Regions from separate parts of the Homo sapiens genome. Here region 2 is linked to region 1. Evidence: promoter capture Hi-C in 16 types of primary human blood cells and fetal thymus (Javierre and others, 2016). All regions are on one chromosome and are shown on one strand. Each heading gives the region's core, a stretch centred on a gene start or on the middle of the fragment in contact. The rest is flanking DNA. Distances are from core to core; before and after follow the strand shown.

Region 1 (5,188 bases), core at 869-3,368:
GGGAATATGCGGGCGCAGAAGTTTCGGTGAGATACAAAGAGCCCACGGTCAAGAATTTATGTCATCAGGAGGTGAACGAGGGAGGACGGGGGTCCTCCCACTGGATGTGGGCCAGGGGAAGAGGATGAGGAATTCAGAGGAGTCCAGGACAATCCCGTGTGTCCGGCTGGAATCTGAATGGCTGGTGGGAACCAGCAACCAAAAGAAAAGAAAACAGGTGGCAGTGGAGCAGCAGCAGAGAACAGGATTTCGGGGAAAGAAAACAGAACTTTTTTTGGCATCCTGAGTGTGAGGTGCCAGGTAGAGAAGCCAGGCTAGCAAGGCACATCCGAGCTGCAAGTAGGAATGGGCTGGGACAACAATTTAGGTTTAGAAACCACCAGCATATATGGGGTACCTGGAACTGTGAGACTAAACAAAATCTCTTGGGGAGATTCTTAACAGAATCAAAGTCAGGAATTTTGGTCTTTATTCCTTTTTCTATCAGACTTCCCAGGAAAGTGTATTTTCTTTTTTTGGGTAGTCTGGTGATTTCTCTTAAAAATAAAACAAACTGAGAATGTCAGTGATGGGGGAGATAATATCTGTTCTTTTAAGCAGATTCTAAATGTATTAGTACCATCAGTAACTAAATAAAACTTTATCTTAAAACCTCTATTACACATTGTAGTTCATATTGTATGGGCTCACTCAAGAGTTTATAGAAAGTATTTTTGGATCAGGTAAATGAAATCATCCAACAGCAGTGCCGTTAAAATCTAAACTACAAAGCCCTGTGTGATCTGGCCACTGCCTACATCTCCAACTTCATCTCATAACACTCGCCCCCCCAACCCCAACTTATTGGTCTTTCAAACCACTCCTAGGGCACGTGAAGCTCTTTCCTGCCTCTGCATAGGCGGTTTCCGCTCATTTCTCTTCAGATCTGAGCTGATTATCAGCCCAGAGAGGCCTTCCCAGAACAGCCTATCAAGAAGAGCAACCTCCTTCCCTTTTTGCTATTATCTGGTTTTCTTTTTCCTTTTTTCTTTTCTTTTCTTTTTGAGACGGAGTTTCGCTCTTGTTGCCCAGGCCGGAGTGCAATGCTGCGATCTCGGCTCACCGCAACCTCCGCCTCCCAGGTTCAAGCGATTCTCCTGCCTCAGCCTCCCGAGTACTGAGATTACAGGCATGCGCCACCATGCCCGGCTAATTCTGTATTTTTAGTAGAGCCGGGGTTTCACCATGTTGGTCCGGCTGGTCTCGAACTCCCGACCTCAGGTGATCCGCCCGCCTCGGCTTCCCAGAGTGCTGGGATTACATGCGTGAGACACCGCGCCCGGCCTGCTACCTGGTTTTCATTTCCTTTACTACACTTACACAAGGTCTACTTTATTTGCCTGTTTGCCTCCTTGCTTTATTACTAATAGATCCTCGAGGGTAGTGATTTTGTCTGTCTTCTCTCCTGCAGCCCCGTCACGTAAAGGTGCTGGTCAAAGGAAGGCGGCAATCACCGACCGGACACCAGGGCAAATCAGGGCAGCCCAGTGATTCGAGATGCCGGCTGGGGAATCGGACCCATGTGGGTCTTTTCTCAGCTTCCCCGCTTACTGTGACTTTCATAAGTAACGGAACCCCCTCAACCCGTTTCCTTAAGTGTAAAAAGGCACTAGACACAGCAAGAAGCGGTTCCGGCAGCGCGGAAACCGAAGCACACGCTGGGTGTCACGACAACACGTGGAAGCCGCATTCCGTGCCGGGGCCCTGGCCCTAGCCCCAGCCCCGGCCCCCGGCCCGCCATGTGGCGCGGCTGACCGCGGCCGTGCGCCCACCTGTCTCCCTCTGCGTCTTCACGCTGATGTACTGGCGCAGCTTCTTCACCGCTCGGTCCCGGATGCCCTTCTCGCTGGACGCCAGCCGCTGGGCAAATTGGATCTCGGCCGGCTGCATGGCGGGGGCCATCGCGCCCGCTGGAGCATCCCCGGCCGCGCAACCCGCGGTGCCGCTGCAGCCAGCCGAGCGCTGCGGAGCAGCCAGCCACCGTCCGCCCGGGCCGCGACTGCACAGAAGGCGGCGGCGGCGGCGCGCGGGCTGATGGCGTCACAAAGGCGCCGCGGCTCGCAGCGCGCTCTGGGAGTGAGCGCGGCAGTGGCCCTGGCAGCTGGCGGAGCGGCCCAGCCCGTGTGCACGTGGCGCCGGCGCTGCCTTTCGGTTGCCAAAATTCAGGCTGTAGACGGCGAGGTTAGCCAGGGTTAGGACTTGACCAGGAAGAGACGGAAGGCTGTTTGTAAACGGTCTAGGATTTTTTGTTTGTTTTTGAGACAGGGTCTCCCTCTGTCGCCCAGGCTGGAATGCAGTGGCGCGATCTTGGCGGTGATCCTGGCTCACTGCAGCCTCGACCTCCCAGACTCGATCGATCCTCCCATCTCGACCGCCCAAGTAGCTGAGACTACAGGCGCGCGCCATCACGCCCCACTATTTGTTATTTTTTTGTAGAGACGGTGTCTCGCTATGTTGCCCAAGCTGGTCTCAAACTCCTGGGCTCAAGCAATCCTCCCGCGGCGGCCTCCCTGATCGCTGGGATTACAGGCTTGAGCCGCCGCGCCTGGCCACGGTCCAGGATCTTTAATCCCATTTAGCACACCTCGTTGAGCCAGCAGCTTACCTGCGATCTCCGTGGCGTGGAGTTTTTAACTGTGGAGCCCCCGGGCCCCCGGGTGGAGTTGAGACTGGAAGGAAAGGCCGGCACTGGGGCCTGTTGAGCGGGTGGAGGGCTCGCCTTCCTCCAGTGCCTGCAGAGGCTTGGGCAGATCGGTGCGCCCCTACCCCGGAGCCCTGGTGCCAGTGCAAGGGCGCCCGCGCAGGCGTCCCGAGGCCTGGCGAGCACGCGCGCTTCCAGGGGAGTTGGGCAGGGCGGGCTGCTTGCTAATTCCAGAGAGGGAAGAAATCTTAGCTTTGGGTTCATCTAAAACCCGAGGCCATCCTATATTTTGCGGACTCAGCGGGCGTGCTGGGGCAAGTTAATGGACTAGGTCACTCCACACGTAGCGGGGGTTATCTCAGTTGCTCCGCTCAGTTGTCTAGGCGACCTCCCGAGGTGCCTGTTGACACAAAAATTCAACCCTTAACGTAAAAGCGCCTGAATCCGAGCGAGGGAAGGCGCGCGGAGGCGAGGTTTCCAGCAAAGACTGCCCATTTGAACGCAGTCCCCCTTAGTGTAGCATTCCTCGCCAAACAGGAAAGGACCCATCCGATTTATTTTACTTGACACTTACATCAGGGGCTGACTTTCCTTCTGCTTTGCAGATAACAAGTTTAAAACCCCGGCTAAGCCAGAAGAGCCAAAGAGGGACCTCGCCAAGGCCACTCCTCGCTCTCTAGGCCGAGAATACTGCGCAAATTCTGGGAGGTTTGGGCCTGGCGGCTCTCCGTTCCCGACCCCCGGCGTGGATTCGTTCCCGCGCTTTCTGGCGTGAGGGGTCAGAGGGCGCGCCGACGCTCAGGCGAACGGAGCGGAGGCGGCAGCGGCCATGGGCGAAGCGGGCGCCGCTGAGGAGGCCTGCCGGGTTAGTGAGGAAGCCCTGGCCGACGCCAGCGTGTTTGAACCGTCGCCATTCGCTCCCCTCAGGGCCTCGCCCCGTGCGCTCGGAGACGGCTCGCTGTCGCGTGCTTGGGGGAAGCCTGGAGACTTCCTCCCCTAACGGCGTGGGCTGGGCCGGAGCGGGGTGGAGACCTGGGGCGGGAGGCGACTTCGCCTCCAAACCCACGCGGGGACCCGGTCTGTGAGGCTGCGCGTGGTGGGGGCACTCAGTGGCGCCAAAGCGGGCATGGGAGCGTGGGATGGATGGTCACTCTCTTCTCTGCTCCGTGGAAGCCCAGTTCCCCTCCGAAGGCCCTGGCCCCCTGCTTCGGGACTTAGCGTCAGGCTTAGAGAGAATCTGCCCTCCATCGATTTTATAACTGTAACTGATTGCATGCGATGGAGAAGGCGCTTGGACTGGGGCCAGATCCGTGTTCACATCCTGCTTCCACCCGTTATTAATTGTGCTGCATTGAGAGTCATCTAGCTCCCGTGCCTTAATTTCCATCTAGACAATCTTGGAGGCTTGGGGTGAATAGTAGATGAGATCACGGGCGGAGGGCTTGGCAAACCCAGTAGGAAACCAGATGACTTCCTTTTCCTCCTGATTAGTTTGGTGCTGCAGTGATAAAAAGTTGCAGGCGTTTTCTTTGACTTTTAGGAATAGAGCTCTTGTATGACTTTTCTTTTTCGTGGTCTTGCTCTGTTGCCCAGACTGGAGTGCAGTGGCACGATCATAGCTCACTGCAGCCTCCAACTCCTGAGCTCAAGCCTTCTTCCCGTGTCAGCCTGCTGCGTACAGGCGCCGGCCACCACACCTGGCTAATTTTTGTATTTTTAGTGAGATGGAGTTTCACCATACTGGTCAGGCTGGTCTTGAACTCCTGACCTCAGGTGATCCACCCGCCTCGGCCTCCCAAAGTGCTGGGATTACAGGCGTGAGCCACTGCGCCGGGCCTCCTGGGCACGTTTTCATATTTTTGTAGTGACAGGGTCTCTCCATGTTGCTCAGACTGGTCTTGAACTCCTGGCCTCCCAAATTCCTGGGATTTCAAGTGTGAGCCACCATGCCTGGCCTGTTTGTCCTTATTATTTTTAACATCTGGCTCCCTTTTTGAAGGCTGAAGCTTCAGCTTTCAAAATGTTTGTATGTACATAAAATATATCTATAGCAGAATATACAGTAGGTAGAGACATGATTTGAAACAACGATGCACATAAGAGGTGTGAAAGAAAAGCAAGTTAACTTGAGCTGTTGTTTTTTTTCTCATGTGAAGAGAAATATAATAAGATCTGCTTGTTCTTTTAGCACATGGGAACTAAAGAGGAATTTGTTAAAGTCAGAAAGAAGGATCTGGAACGGCTGACAACTGAAGTGATGCAAATACGGGACTTCTTACCCAGAATACTAAATGGGGAGGTGCTGGAGAGCTTCCAGAAATTAAAGATTGTAGAAAAAAGTGAGTCTTCATTTTCAGCAGTCATTGGTGGTAACAGTAATTTGTTCTAGCAGATTTACCCTAGGTAAATAATTGTAAACGAATTTTAAGGTACTCTTACAGTCCTTGTGATGATATTTGGGAGAGTCTGATGACCTAAGAAAGGGAGGTTTCCTCAGTGTAGTGACTT
Region 2 (5,188 bases), core at 1,658-4,157, 500 kb after region 1:
TAACCCTGATTGTCTCAAATATGTTCTTTTACAGTTGATGTGTTTGCATCATGACCTAAAAAGAATCTGCTCACTGCTCTGGTTGTTACGTAGGTATCATTTTTTCTGAAATTGCTTCTGCGTTCCTGAAAAGGTCATACGTCTTTTCCTCTTTTGATATGTTAATACAAAGAACTTTATGAATCAGTTGTCTAATGCTAAACCAATCTCACATGATTGGAACCAACCCAGCTTAGTTACTGTCTTAGCCCAGGTTTCCAAGAAGAGGGGGCCTGGGGAGCGTCTAGGTGCAGATGTTTTGTTGGGAGGTACCACCCCAGGGAAGTGAAAGGGAGGTGAGGAAGGGAGGGAGGGTACTTTGCAGAACTGGCTCTTCTCATCTCCAGGTGGCCAAATCTGCTCCAAAGGATGATGGCCTCCCTCACCCCGTCCCCAACTTTCTGACGTGTCTTTCTGGGCCCTTCGGGGAACCATGGGGAAGCAGAACCCTTGGGATCAAGGCAGCTCAGCCCGAGGCTCTCACCAGGATGGGTGGGGGCACCCCAGCCCAGGCTTGCCTCCCAGGAGCGCTAGATGGGACGATGGGTTCAGCTCTGTTACGTTTAGGATTTTCCACCTGTGCTCTGAATGCAGCTGGCCTGTAGCTCTCTCTTGTATTGTGCTTATCCGGTTTTGATACCAACGTTATAACCACCTTATAAAACGGGGGGTGGGCTGGGCGCAGCGGCTCACCCCTGTAATCCCAGTGCTTTGGGAGGCTGAGGAGGGTGGATGGCTTGAGCTCAGAAGCTTGAGACCAGCCAAGGCAACATGGCAAAACCCTGCCTTTACAAAAAAATACAAAAATTAGATGGATGTGATGGCACGCACCTGTAATCCCAGCTACTCAGGAGGCCGAGGTGGGACGATGACTTGAGCCCAGCAGGCAGAGGTTACAGTGAGCAGAGATTGCACCACTGCACTCCAGCCTGGGCAACAGAACCAGACCCTGTCTCAAATAAAAATAAACAAATAAAACGGGAGGTGAGGGAAGCATGTTTTCTAATTTTCTTTTCTTTGGGAGAATTTCTATAAAACTGAAACTGTTCTTACTTGTTGGTAGAAACTCACCAGTTAACATCTAGGAATGTTACTTTCTCTTTGGGGCTTTTTTTTTTCCTACTGATTCCATTTTTTAATGGCCATAGGACTTCTGGTTTTTAGAAAATCCTCCTTTGTGTAGGTATCACACTCACGGGCATGCAGCGTCCCCCGGGTGCTCGGATTCCTCGGTGATCTCCGGCCTCACGAGCGTGGTGGGCATTTTGTTTTTTTTTTTCTCATCCCTCTTGTTTATTTGTCTCCACCTCTTTCGTGATTAATTGGGGCGGTTTATCAATTTTATTAGATTTTGGCTTCGTTGATCCTCTCTACAGTATGTCGTTTTTTATTTCATTCATTTCTACTCATATCTTCTTTTTTTTTTTTTGACATGGAGTCTCCCTCTGTCACCCAGGCTGGAGTGCAGTGATACAATCTCAGCTCACTGCAACCTCCACCTCCCGGGTTCAAGCAATTCTCCTGGCTCAGCCTCCTGAGTAGCTGGGATTGCAGGTGCTCGCCACCATGCCCGGCTACTTTTTGTATTTTTAGTAAAGATGGGGTTTCACCCTGCTGGCCAGGCTGGTCTCGAATCTTTCTTTTGTTCTTTCCTCTGGATTTATTCCACTGCTAACGTTTGTAAATCTAACATGGTAAATTTGCTATGAGTTTTATCTTTTCTTTGCTCAGTGTCAGCGTGAAGATGGTCGTTTCCTTTTCTCACCATGGCCGCATCCCACAGGTTTAGCTGGAGAGCTGGGGCTCTTCCCGCAGTGCCCCGCAGGAGCCGCCGTGCAGCCCAGGGAGGGGCCTTCAGACATCCGGGAGCGAAGCCACACAGAGGCTTCTGCAGTCAGTCACCGGGCAAGACTCGACACTCACTGTGTGTTTGTTCTTAGCCCACCTGACCCAGAAATGACTGGAGGCAGGCAAGGGGGGCTCAAGCCCTGGGCATTCGCTGTGTTCAGAAGAATGAACAGTTCCTAGGCCAGTGCTGGAGGAGGGAGAGGAGCTGTTGCCGCATCACCCGTGACAGTGACGCTGCTGCTGTCACCACACCAGGGGTGTCCTGAGTGCTTCACCTGAGTGGACCCCGCACCCCGCACAGAAACCCTCTGCAGTCAGAACCCCGGCGACCCGGGTGCCGGGGAAGCAGCTGCGGCACCATCCGGAAAGTTACAGGAAGCTCCTGGAAGCTTCGAGAGGCAGTGCCCGGGCTAAGCCCGCCACGATGCTGCCCGCTTCGTGTGGTCTGAGCACGTAACATCTCCCTTAGCTTTTCTGCACAAAACACTGCGCTGCCAGTCCTCAAGATCCAGTCTGCGGTCCTGGCCTGCCCCGGGCACTTGTTTCCCCTTCAAAGACCTCTCAGCAGACAATTGTTTTTCACGCCCTCTGGAAGGGAACACTCAGGCCGCAGGTGACGGGCGACGTGGCTGAAGGCGTGGGACACAGTGGGTGCTTAGTCTCTCCTGGAATCAACCCAGGCTCGCCGAGGAGGCTGGACACAGCTCTGGGCGTGAGGACAAGGCTGGTTTGCCTTTGGTTCCTGAGCAGCACGGCCCACCTTTCCCCACCCAGAGGTTCCGCCCTGCCTCGAGGGGCAATGACACGGGTCGGCCAGGCCTGCAGTCAGAAGCAGGCGCTCTCAGAGCCAGGATCTGGATCCATGACTCCACGTGCCTGGTCAAGGCGAAGGCGCTAAGGAGCCCCCCAACCCCTGCTGCCTGTGGACACCTGGAGAGCAGTGCTTCCAAGGGAAAGCAGGGAGGTGGGCTGCTGGGGGGGTGTTGGCTCCCCACCTCGGGGGATGGAGAGGAGAAGGCAGGTGTGGGGCCTTTGGAAGGTGACCTGGGAAGCAGGAGTGAGTGAGGGGGCAGGAGGTGGGGTAAGGAGCAAAGCCACCGAAGGCTCCTCCATGAGAGGGTTGCTGGTGTAGGCAACTGGTACCAATCCCACTGAGGATGTCGACTGTGGCACTCCTAGCTCTCACGCGGGCCGAATGGACCGAAGCCCCAAGAGCAGAGAGGCGGGGAATGCGGCCCCTTGGAAACGGCCCCCTTAGCTTCCGTGGGCTCAGAGGCACCTGCAGGCTTCTGGCCAGGGCAGCAACAGGGTGTAGCACCAGCACCAGAGACCATGACACCCACCAAACCAGGGGCATCTGTCAGGGTTCCCAGAGGAACAGAACCCACAGAACAGAGCCGATAGGATAGGTGGACAGAAGGATGAATGGATGGATGGAGGGAAAGAGATTTATTTGAAGAAATTGGCTCGGGCAATTGTGGGGGTTGTCACTTCCAAAATCTGCAGGGCAGGCGGCAGGCTGGAGACTCAGGCAAGAGCTGACTGAGGTCTCAAGTCCAAGTTCTGCAGGGCGGCATGCTGGATACCCAGGCAGGGTTTCTGTATTGCAGTCTTGAGGGAGGTGCAATTCCTTCTTCTTCAGGAAAGCTTAGTCTTTGAACTTAAGGCCTCTGGCTGACCGGACAAGACCCACCCACACGACGGAAGGTCACCAGCTTTAAAAGTCTACTGACCTAAATACGAATCACATCTACACAGCTGTCCACGACAACATCCAGATGGGCGTTTGACCAAACCGGGCGCCGTGGCCCAGCCAAGTTGATGCATGACACAAACCGTTGCACCGGGGTGAACCCAGGAAGGTTAACACCTCACTAAACAAGGAAGGTGAGCCTTCCTGCTGCTCTCAGAGCCTTGAGGAAAGGGAGCGCATTCGGGTTGAGGAAACAAAACCTCTTCTTAGATGATTGCTACTAAAATTACCATAACCCCCCAAGAAATGGCTGCACCATGGGTGTTATTTTGTTTTTTTTTTTTAATCTGTTATTTTTGTACAGACAGGGTATCCTTATGTTGCCCAGGCTGGCCTCGAACTCCTGGCCTCAAGCGATCTTCCTGCCTTGGCCTCCCAAAGCACTGAGATTACAGGTGTGAGCCGCCACGCCTTGCCATGGGAGTTATTTTTCTCATGTGCAAAGATTTCGGTTTTCAGTCAGTGTGGGTCTGCACTAGCCGGGAAAACTGTCCAGAAACTCATTCGTGTCGAGAAAGAACACAGTACAGCCCTGGCGTCCAGAGCCACCCTGATGCTCAGGGCCAGGCTTTTGCTTTCCTCCTGGACGTAAACAACCTCCCGGAACGCCAGCTGAGACAGGGGCCACGAGACCATGGCAGAAGGAGATGAAGCAAGGCCACCCGTAATCGTGTCTAAGCACAAAAGCAAGGTCACCGCACAGCCCACGAAACGCTGGACGCCTCTCCTGTTGCTAAATGAGTGGCTGCTGCCCTGTTAGAGAATCCTACCGGGCCCCTGCGCCCTCACCACCCCAATCTAAAACAAACCCCACCTTAGGCCCTTTCCAAGCCACCCAACCCGTGTCCCCTAACACTCTGTTACTGAAACGCCCTCAGTTCCCCCACGGGGCATGCAGTCCGGCCTGGTCGCCTGCAGGCGTGTGTGTTGCTGCGGCCTCTGGCTGGGGGGTGCCGCCAGTGGTCTGCCCAGGGTAACTGGATACCGAGTGACAGCCGGCCACACGGGGCCCTGGTCACACACGGTGAACGATGACTCAGCCCTGGTCCTGGAGTATGCGGGAGCCAGGGGGCCCAGGCCCATCTGCAATTTCCCTTCCTGTTCTCACCAATCAGGCTGTGGCCCCATGACTCCACCAAAATGTCTCTCCACATTGCCACGCGCGGCCCTCGGCTCCAGGCCTCCCCCGGCCTCCTGGGCGGCTGTCAGCGGGCCACGCCCCTTCCGGGCGCACTGGCTCCACCTGGTCTCCAGGATGCGCGGTCCCCTGCTTCTCCCGCACCGCGAGCTCCTCCCCGCCAATGCTGGGGGCCCCGGGGCTCGGTGCTTGCATCCTCTACTTCCGTCCACACTTGGACCAGCCGGTTGACCTCATCACGTCCTATTTCCTGTGCGCTGGCTCCGCCCTACGCACTCGCCTGGCTTCTCCACGGCTCCCATTGGATGCCGAGCAGCGCCAGACGCAGCGTCTTAGACCCAGCGTGTCTGAAACCGGCTGTTCCCACGGCCTTTCTTACCCCAGCTATCAGAACTTCACTCTTGGCCGGG

Evidence for each region. The method cuts DNA at HindIII sites, captures the fragments that hold promoters and counts their contacts. A CHiCAGO score of 5 or more calls a contact.
Region 2: a fragment that was not itself captured here is called in contact with the fragment with the promoter of HSF2BP in region 1 in 6 of 17 cell types (M0 macrophages, M1 macrophages, endothelial precursors and 3 more); the score reaches 9.7 in M0 macrophages.

The regions. Positions count from the first base shown.
Region 1 is chr21:43,656,418-43,661,605 of GRCh38, reverse strand. HSF2BP (heat shock transcription factor 2 binding protein) reads left to right here and starts at 2,118. Exons shown (of 9, transcript NM_007031.2): 1 at 2,118-2,220; 2 at 3,286-3,545; 3 at 4,869-5,019. The coding sequence starts at 3,510. It overlaps RRP1B (ribosomal RNA processing 1B), which reads right to left and starts at 2,046. Exons shown (of 16, transcript NM_015056.3): 1 at 1,812-2,046. The coding sequence starts at 1,941. RefSeq lists an enhancer at 1,054-1,103 and a silencer at 1,824-2,013. The HindIII fragment of the contact is 5,137 bases long and covers 1-4,688 here.
Region 2 is chr21:43,153,575-43,158,762 of GRCh38, reverse strand. It overlaps LOC107987300 (a long non-coding RNA gene), which reads left to right. Exons shown (of 3, transcript XR_007067885.1): 2 at 35-89; 3 at 1,823-5,188. Among named protein-coding and RNA genes, the nearest start is that of CRYAA, 13 kb to the left of the region's middle. RefSeq lists enhancers at 1,485-2,220, 2,221-2,958, 4,074-4,744. The HindIII fragment of the contact is 1,258 bases long and covers 2,279-3,536 here.